Regions from separate parts of the Homo sapiens genome. Here region 2 is linked to region 1. The links are contacts of gene promoters, found by promoter capture Hi-C in blood cells and fetal thymus (Javierre and others, 2016). All regions are on one chromosome and are shown on one strand. Each heading gives the region's core, a stretch centred on a gene start or on the middle of the fragment in contact. The rest is flanking DNA. Distances are from core to core; before and after follow the strand shown. Region 1 holds the start of ZNF224 (zinc finger protein 224). Region 2 overlaps CEACAM20 (CEA cell adhesion molecule 20).

Evidence for each region. Contacts are between HindIII fragments. The CHiCAGO score rates a contact against its expected background, and 5 or more counts as called.
Region 2: a contact is called between a fragment that was not itself captured here and the fragment with the promoter of ZNF224 in region 1, in 1 of 17 cell types (monocytes). The highest score is 5.1, in monocytes.

The regions. Positions count from the first base shown.
Region 1 is chr19:44,090,876-44,095,872 of GRCh38, forward strand. ZNF224 (zinc finger protein 224) reads left to right here and starts at 3,486. Exons shown (of 6, transcript NM_001321645.3): 1 at 3,486-3,655. RefSeq lists an enhancer at 3,296-3,405. The HindIII fragment of the contact is 10,144 bases long and covers 1-4,997 here.
Region 2 is chr19:44,502,358-44,507,354 of GRCh38, forward strand. CEACAM20 (CEA cell adhesion molecule 20) reads right to left here. Exons shown (of 12, transcript NM_001102597.3): 12 at 3,802-3,857. The coding sequence ends at 3,804. Among named protein-coding and RNA genes, the nearest start is that of ZNF180, 4.3 kb to the left of the region's middle. The HindIII fragment of the contact is 5,114 bases long and covers 1-4,851 here.

The sequences.
Region 1 (4,997 bases), core at 2,236-4,735:
TCCTATGATCATGCTGAATTCGCTTATTGTCTAGGCATTCATGGATTGGAAGACTTCACATTTTTGTGATGACAGTACTACCCAAACCAATCTACAGTTTTACTGCAATCACTATCAAAATCCAAACAGCCTTTTTTTTTTTTGCAGAAATCAATTCATAAATTCATATGTAATTGTAATGGAGGCAAATAGACAAAATCTTTCTTTTTTAAAGGAACATGATGGATGGCTCCCACTTCATTTCGAAACTTACTACCAAGCTATAGTAATGGAATAGAATTTAGAGTCCATAAAGAAACTCATACATCTAAAGTCACTTGATTTTCAAGAAGGATCCAAGATTGCTTAATGGAGAAAGCATAGTCTCTTCAGCAAATAATGCTGGGCAAATATATATACATATGCAACATAATGAAGTTAGATCCGCACTTCACACTATACTTAAAAATTAACTCAAAATGATCAATGACCTAAATATAAGAGGTTAAGCTATACAACTCTTAGAATAAAACATAAAGGTTAATCTTCAAGACTTTTTATTTGGAATGGATTCTTAGATAAGACACCATATGCACAAGCTAAAAAAACCCCACATAAATTGGACTAGAGCAAAAAAAAAAATGCTATGCATACAGAGACATTGTCAAGAGCATGAATTCTTCTAGTATCAGAATATATAAAGAACTCTTAGACCAGGTGAGGTGGCTCTCACCTATAATCCCAGCACTTTGGAAGGCTGAGATGGGTGGATCACTTGAGCCCAGGAGTTTGAGGCCTGCCTGGGCAACATGGCGAAAACCATGTCTCTACAAGAAACAAACAAACAAACAAAAAACAACAACAAAAAACAAAGGTAGCCAGGCATAGTGACCCATGCCTGTGGTCCCAGCTACTCAGGAGGCTGAGGCAGAAGGATTGTTTGAGCCTGGGAGGTCAAGGCTGCAGTGGGGCGTGATGTACCATTGCACTCCAGCCTGGGCAACAAAGAGAGACTCTGTTTCTTAAAAAGAAAAGAAAGAAAGAACTCTTACAACTCAATAACAAGAGGAGAAACCACCCAATTTTCTAATGGGCAAAGATACAAATAGAAATTTCAGATATACAAGTTACCAACAATTATGTGAAAAGATGCTCAACTATTAGTCATTAGGAAAATGCAAATCAAACCAATAATGAGATGCCATTTTACAACAGCTATGTTAGCTATCATCTTTAAAAATAGAAAATAGCCGATGTGGTGGCAGGCACCTGCAGTCCCAGCTACTTGGGAGGCTGAAGTAGGAGGATCGCTTGAGCCCAGGAGTTTTGAGGTGTAGTGAGCTATGCCCACTGGGTGTCCACACTAAGTCGACATCAACATGGTGATCTCCCAGGAGCAGAGGACTACCAGGTTGCCTCAGGAGAGGTAAACTGGCCCAGGGTGGAAACACAGCAGGTCAGAACTCCCATGCTGATCAGTAGTGAGATGTTGTCTGTGAATAGCCACTGCAATTCTGCCTGCACAACGCAGGGAGACCCCGTTTTCAATTTATACACACACACATATACATATACATATATATTTTATACATACATATATACAAAATAAGTATTGGAGAGGATGTGGAGAAATTACTACCCTCACACACTGAAGGTGGGAATGTAAAAATGGTGCAGTTGCTGTGGAAAATTGTTTCGTGGTTCCCAACATAGAATTACCATATGAATCACTAAATTTCATATCTAGGTATATACCCCAAAGAATTGAAAGTAGGTGATGAAACAAATACTTGTACACCACTGTTTGTAGCAACACTATTGACTACAGCCAAAAGGTGGAAAGAACCCAAATGTCCCTCAATCAATGAATGGATAAACAAATTGTGGCGCAAGCCTGTAATCCCAGCACTTTGGGAGGCTGAGGTGGGCGGATCACCTGAGGTAAGGAGTTCGAGACCAGCCTGACTAACCTGGTGAAACCCTGTCTCTACTAAATACAAAAAAATTAGCTGGGTGTGGTGGCGCATGGCTGTAATGCCAGCTACTTGGGAGGCTGAGGCAGAAGAATCGTTTTAACCCAGGAGGCGGGGGTTGCAGTGAGCTGAGATCGTGCCATTGCACTCCAGCCTGGGCATCAAGAGGGAAACCCCACCTCAAAACAAAACAAGACAAAGCAAACAAAAAAAACAAATCGTAGTAGAAACATAAAATATTATGAAGTACTGGTACATGCTGTGATGTGGATGAACTTTAAAAGCAGTATGCTGGCAGGGCGCGGTGGCTCACGCCTGTAATCCCAGCACTTTGGGAGGCCGAGGCGGGAGGATCACGAGGTCAAGAGATCGAGACCATCCTGGCTAACACGGTGAAACCCCGTCTCTACTAAAAATACAGAAAAATTAGCCAGGCGTGGTGGCACGCGCCTGTAGTCCCAGCTACTCGGGAGGCTGAGACAGGAGAATCGCTTGAACCCGGGAGGCGGAGGTTGCAGTGAGCTAAGATCGTGCCACTGCACTCCAGCCTGGCACTTTTTTTGAGATTCCGTCTCAAAAAAAAAAAAAAGAAGCAGGATGCTAAGTGAAAGGTGTCAGAAACAAAAGGTTCCATAATGTATAATTCCATTTATATGAAATGTCCACAATAGGTAATTCAATAGGACAGAGATTAGTGTTAGACAGTGACTGCTTAGTGGGTATGGGGTTTTTGGGGTGATGAAAATGTTTCCTAACTTTTTATTTGTACTACATATATCCTAAAATGGTGAATTTCACGTTTTGTGCATTACACCTCAATAGAGATGTTTTAAATAATAAAATACATTAAAATGTTTTGCATAGATAAAACAATAAAAAAAAACGTTTTTGTTGAGAAAATATTTGCGAGATAAAATGTTAATATCATGAATATAAGAACAGTGCTTGAAAAGTGAGGGATAAAACCAAAAACTCAATAAGAAAGTGGGCAAAACATCTGGACAATTTACAAAAAATGTAATAATGACACCTGAAAATATGCAAGAATATGCCATCTTTACAAGAGTTATAAATTAAAACTACATGCCATTTCTTACCACTGGCAAAACTTATTTGAAGAGTGTATCATCTCGCTTGTTCCCTTTCCAGTAACACTCCTGTCCTCACTAGAGGGGTTTAGACTTCAGGAATTCCTTTCTATACGGTATTTTCTCTTAGGCACCCAGGGAGAGGGAAGGACGACTCTCAGGGTAGAAGTCCACATTTCCCAACAGGCGCTCGGGGGTACGAGATTCGTTCCCCGTGGGAAGAGTGGTCAAGGGCTTCCCAGTAGTCGTCAACACTTCCCTTTGAGTGTAATGCTGCAGGAGTACAGTCCAGACCCTCAGTGGAATCGCGGTCGGTTTAGCTCCGGCAGTTGGGTCCCAGGGAATTCTGGGAAGTGTAGTCCAGACGCTCAGTGGAGTCGCGGTCAGTTTGGCTCCGGCTGGCGGGTCCCGGGGAATTCTGGGAAGTGGAGTCCAAACATTCGGTGGAGTCGCGGACACTTCCGCTCGGGGACTGAGGTTGCTGCAGTTTTTCCGCGATAGTTTGGGGCAGTTCCGCGCGTTGCAGGCCCTTCTGAATTTCCTGGACCTACGCATTGGATCCTCAAAGAACTGGTGATCGAATTAGGGGAAAAGGGGCCTCGTCGGAGAGTAGAGGTTTGGAGGGGCAAGGGCCGCTGTTTGCGTTCTCGTCCGTGGCACCTTCTTGGGCTTGGGTCTGTCCTCGCTTCCCGGGGGCATTGGTACTTGGTTGGGTCGCGTCTCACCTGGTTTCAGGGTTTCCGGGGCTCTGAGCTCGCCCACTCCGCCCCCTGCACCCCACGCGCGTGGCCACTTCTTCTCGATATAACGTTGGGGTGTTAATCTCCTTGGGTTTCCCGTTACTGTTCTTTAAAATGGGGACTTTAGGGCCATCCTAATGGAATCGTTTTGGGAACTGGAAGAGGTAACACAAATGAGAGCCTTAAAGCAGTCCCTGTCACTTGGTGACTGGTGGTCTCTTGTTAATTTCCCACGAAGGACCGGGTGGGGTCAGAGCTCCAGCTGCAGGGGCCTCGGCCCTTCTCCCTGATCCCTGCAGGACGCTGGATGATCCCGGAAGCCTTCTGACCTCTTTTTAGGAGAGCGAGGGTTGCGTCCACTTTCATGAAGGGAAAGGAGCATTTAACTTTTATGGGGGACGGCGACGCGGTCAAGGTGTTTCACAGCTTTCTCGTTCCCCAACCCGACCTTTCCAGAAGAGCTGCAGGGAGGGACTTCTTGGCTTCTGAGGGCAAAGCTCTACGTGAGTGGTCCTTGGCTCTTTGACCGAGATGCTCACCCCAACCGAGAGTGTATAGGTTGTGTCCTCGGGCATGGGGGTCGATAATAATTAAGTCTTAATTAGTAACTTCATTCTAAGGGCTTTATACAAATAAATTTACGCCACACCGTGGCTCTGTGGAGAAGTATTGCTTTTTTCTATTTTAAAAACGAAAGTGAGACACAGAGCGCATAGGCACCCGACTAGTGAGAGGTGGAGCTGGGGTTGGAACCTAAGCAGTCTGGGTCAGAGCCTGATTTGATCTTCTCTTGGGATACGTTGTCACTGAGGCAGAGGAACTAGTTGGACTTAGGTGGGGAAAGCAAGACTTAGGGGCTTGAAATTTTCTGAGTTTCTAAAAATGTTGTCAACTATTTTGTTTCAATCATTACAAATATTTTGTATTCTTATAGAACCATGTCATTGTACAGCATTCTATTTTTCTTTATTAAGAACAAAATGGGCCTGGCGCGGTGGCTTACGCCTGTAATCCCAGCACTTTGGGAGGTCCAGGCGGGCGGATCACGAGGTCAGGAGTTCGAGACCAGCCTGGCCAACATGGTGAAACCGCATCTCTACTAAAAAATAATTACAAAAATTAGCTGGGCGTGGTGGTGGGCGCCTGTAATCCCATCTACTCGGGAGGGTGAGGCAGGAGAATCGTTTGAATCTGGGAGGCGGAGGTTGCAGTGAGCG
Region 2 (4,997 bases), core at 1,045-3,544, 410 kb after region 1:
TATCTCTGAAGTTTGAGGGTTAAATGTGACATCGGTTTCTACATTGAAGTAAGTAGCTTATTTTTTTAACCTTTTATTTTGTAAATTTCAAAACAAAAGTAGGGACTCAATTAATGACTCCCCAAGACCTATGTCATCCAACTTAAATATTTTCACTCAGTCTTGTTTCATCTGTATTTCCACCTATGTTGTGCATTTGAGACCAAGATGTTGAACTCTAGAGTCCATGCTCTTAACTTTTACATTATGTTGCCGCTTGTCTACACATCAGTATCTTTCCTCTACGTGCAAGCAATACTAAGTTTGCAAACAAAACAGAAAAAGTTCGTATGTATTCACAAAAAAGCAAAAAAAAAAAGCCTTATAAGTAAATTTAGTAAGATAAATATGTCATCTGAAGAAACCCTCAAAACCTTACTGAGAGAGAAAAATGGACAAATAGAAATGCTGTGTTGCTAGCTGTGTGTTGTAAAGATGTAAAATCTTGCAGATTGATCTGCAAATACAAATATGACAAAATCAGAATGGGATGCTTTGAGTGTTAGGTCGTCTTCCTTTTTTCACTTCATTTATTTTTCTGCTAATTGTTTAAGATATTCAGAAAATAGGCCAGGCGCAGTGGCTCACACCTGTAATCCTAGTACTTTGGGAGGCTAAGGCAGGCCAATCATGAGGTCAAGAGTTCAAGACCAGTCTGGCCAACATGGCAAAACTCTGTGTCTACTTAAAAAATACAAAAATTAGACAGGCATGGTGATGCACGCCTGTAATCCCAGCTACTCAGGAGTCTGAGGCAGAAGAATCGCTTGAACCTGGGAGGCAGAGGCTGCAATGAGCCAAGATCACGTTGCTACACTCCATCCTGGGCAACAGAGCAAGACTCCATCTCAAAAAAAAAAAACAATTTTCAGAAAATAAAGCGTTAGTACTATGTAATGTAAAACTGACTTTGTTTATCTGTCTTTTGTTTAGTCTTTTTTATTTTCTTTCACAATGAACAAGGTGGTAATGTTTACTTCCAGGAACCTATAAATCCTGACTTAACCTGAATATTACAGGGACTTTAGAAGAGTTACCACTGCTGGGCGCAGTGGCTCACGCCTGTAATCCCCACACTTTGGGAAGCCGGAGCAGGAGGATCACTTGAGCCCAGGAGTTTGAGACCAGCCTGGGCAACATGGTGAAACCCCGTCTCTACAAAAAATACAAAAATTAGCTGGGCCTGGTGGCACAAGCTGTAGTCCCAGCTACTCAGGAGGCTGAGGCAGGAAGGATTGCCTGAGCCCAGGAAGCAGAGGTTGCAGTGAACCAAGATTATGCTACTACACTCCAGCCTCAGCGACAGAGCCAGACCCTGTCTCAAAATAAATAAATGAATAAATAAAAATTTTAAAGAGTTACCACTCAGGAACATTCTAGAAAGATGCCTATCTAATCTAGAGATTTATCTGTCAACTGTCGGGAAGAGCTGAGACCAAAGTTTATATTAAGATTCTGTTTATTGGCCATGAATTGGATAAGGGCTCAAGATACAGTGAAGAGCAAGAAGATTATGAATCCATTTACTATAAATACTAGAAAACAAAGTAAGAGTAACGAGAGGGTAAAAGGGCATGATCTGTCTCTAGGATGTCAGGGGGAGGGGGACATTTCTTGGCAGGGAAGAGGAAAGTTCTCAGGGTTCAAATAGGGTGGTGTTTCTGGTACTACTGAGTGCAACCCTTAAGATCCTAATTCCGGTCTCTTGTATCACATCTAATGATTAATTTTTAAAATCTGAATTAATGTTATCATCATTATGATAGCCATTCAGCTCCAAGGATAGCAACAACGCATTCTGAAAACTCTTCATTTCCAGGAGTTTTCAGTGTTGGTTTCCCCCTGTGTTAACAGTCCTTTTTTGTCTCCTTTGCTTGATCTCTCCTGTAAACATCAGAGGAACCCAGGAATCAGCTGTCAGCCTGTCCCTTGCCTTGTCTTCATCCACTCTGCTTGGGGTTGACATAACAGGCCTATTGCTCAAACTCTGTAAGTTCCCCAGAAGGTCCTGTTTTCCTGACTAGCCTTTGGGCAGCTCTGGGAACTGAGCTCTCATAATGTTCTATCTGGTAAGAGTGCTTTTGTTTGCCTGAGGCCTTGAGCCATGCTGTACCACTTTGTCCAGATGGTTTATACTAACAGTGTAATTTATGGAGGAACATCTGCTTTCCTTCTAGGAGTCTGGAGCTTCAGTGACTGACCCTTTATAAAAACCATGGACACCCAGGTTTAGGTGAGCTTCCCTCGATGGCAATGCTTCACACACGTTGTCACACATCATTGCTGGGGGATTTCCCATGTGCTGTGGTTTGGATATTTGTCTCCTCCAAAACTCATGTTGAAACTTAATCCCCAGTGTGGCAATATTGAGAGGTGGGGGTTTTTAAGAGGTGATTGGCTCATGAGGGTTTTGCCTTCATGAATGGATTAATCCATTCATGGACTAATGGATTAACGGGTTATCATGGGAGTGGAACTGGTAGCTTCATAAGAAAAGAAAGAGAAACATGAGCTAACATGTTACCACACTCAGTCCCCTTGGCATGTGATTCCCTGCACCACTTCAGGACTCCACAGAGAGTCCCCACCAGCAAGAAGTGCTCTCACCAGATGCAACCCCTAGACCTTAGACTTCTAAGCCTCCATAACTGTAAGAAATAAATTTCCTTTTTAAAACAAATTACCCAGATTTAGATATTCTGTTATAGGCCAAAGAAAGCAGACTAATACACCATGTGACTCCACTGAAAGAGAACACTTGGAAGCTGGTGCAGGGTATCCTCCAGACTTCACCCCATGCACCTTTTCCCTTTGCTAATTTTATTCTCCATCCTTTTGCTGTAATAAACTATAACCATGAGTATAACAATTGGGTCCTATGAATTCCTCTAGAAAATCTTTGAGCATGAGGTGGTCTTGGGGACCCCCCTGACAGAGGAGCTCATCCAGCCCCATAACTTTAAGTCCCACTGACAACTCTCAAATGTGTATCTCCAGCCATGATCTGTCTAGATTTTTATGAACAATTGCCTACTTGATTCTGCAACTGATTCTTGACATGTCTAAATTCTTGACATGAAGCAAATTCTTTATTTCTCTCCTTATCCCAAAGTTTCTCAGAAAGTGACCTGCCAATCATCCAGTTGCCCTGGCAAGAAACCATGGAGATATCCTTGTCTCCTAACTCTCTTTACCTTCAGCAAATCTCATTCTGACTCTCTCCGCCCCTGCAGTTCTCAGGATTCTAAGCATTTCATGCCTACCTCTCCTCAGGAGCCTCAATCCCTCACTTCACTACGTGTTTTCTCCTTTTATTAAGAGCTCTTAATTTCTTAAGAGCTCCTTGTTCCTTATCTTCTATCATGATTTGAAAAGCCACTTCTTCTCTGACACCTGTCTTTGTCCCCTACTCCTCTCTGGCTGACTCAGACTCACTCTTCTCTCTGGAGTCCACCAACAGTGTTTGCTCATCCTCAGCCTGCAACTATGATATCCTAAGCTGTTCAGTCTCAAACCTTGGTCCTCTAACTCTAGATCCACGGGCTGTCATTTTTACCCTTACTATTGCTTTGAAAAAAAATATGAGTCAAAATCTAAGATTCTATGGAAGCCAGGGCCTGACCAACCCATTGCAGTAGAACATCACAAGGTCTACAGAGATGACAGAGAATGACTGGCTTATAATATGCACTTAATAAATGTCATTAAATATATGATCAAGCATGGTTTCTCTAGGACTCCTGGAGAAAAGATCTCTGCTTCCATTAGACGGAGGGGTTGATTTGGATGTAAGTGTTGGGCTCTGGATTCACAAGCTCCTGTTAAACAAAGAGAAAATGTGAGCTCCATTTGCTAGGTGGACCCTCCCAGTCTACTCACTGTAGTCTGGGGCCCAAACAGCCTGGAGCTTTCCTTTCTTTGGAAATTCCAAAAATCTTCCTCCATTCTCATCACACTTTAGTAACCCTGGCACATCTCTGTTCCTGGAATGGCCCATGTACTTCCCCACTGTGGTAAACAGACTCTAAAGTGGTCCCCATAATCCCTGCCTCCTGGTATTCATTCCTTTATGTAATCTCCTCCCCTTGAGGGCAAGACCTGTGACTTGCATCTAACCAATAGAATATGGCAAAGGTGGCAGGATATACATGATTGCATGTATGTGATTCTGTTACATAAGATTATGACTTCTGTCTTGGCTTGAAGAAGCAAGATGCAATGTTGTGAGCTGCCTGTGGAGAGGGCCACATGGCAAAGAACTGAGGATGACCTCCAGCTGACAGTAAGAAACTGAGGCCCTCATTATGACAGCCTGCAAGGAACTGAATGCTGCTAATGACCACATGAGCTTGGAAGTGGATCCATCCCCAGCTGAGCCTCAGATGAGACCTGGGCTTTGACTGGCACCTTGATTATACAGCCTTGCAGAAGAGCTAACTAAGCAATGCCTGAACTCCTGACCCACAGAAACTGTGAGATAATGAATTCATGTTGTTTTAAGCTGCAAAGTCTGTGGTAATTCATTATACAGCAACTGATAACTCTACACCCTCTTCAGGGCCTTTTTTACTGATGCCTCTCAAGTTGGAATGTTTCCTTTCATACTGTTTGCATGGTTTGCTCCTTCTAATCCCTCCAGAATGTAGCAGACACTGAGTTCACTGAGTTGACTGACCTAACCTTCTTCCCCACACCACCTCCCTTGCTTGCTTCTATTGAAGAGGCTGGGAATGTTAATGTACCACTTTCTCAGCCTCTGTTGCTACAAGGAGCACCATATGACCTTATTCTGGCTAATGAGATATAAGAGGAAGCTTACTAGGTGGTATTTCTGGGAAGACCTTTTGCCCGACTAATAATAGGAAACAAACATGGCTCCCCTACGCAGACACTGGTGAAGAGAGGGACTTAGGTGGCTAAGTTTTTACCAGTTCAAAGCTGATTAGAGAGCTGACAAA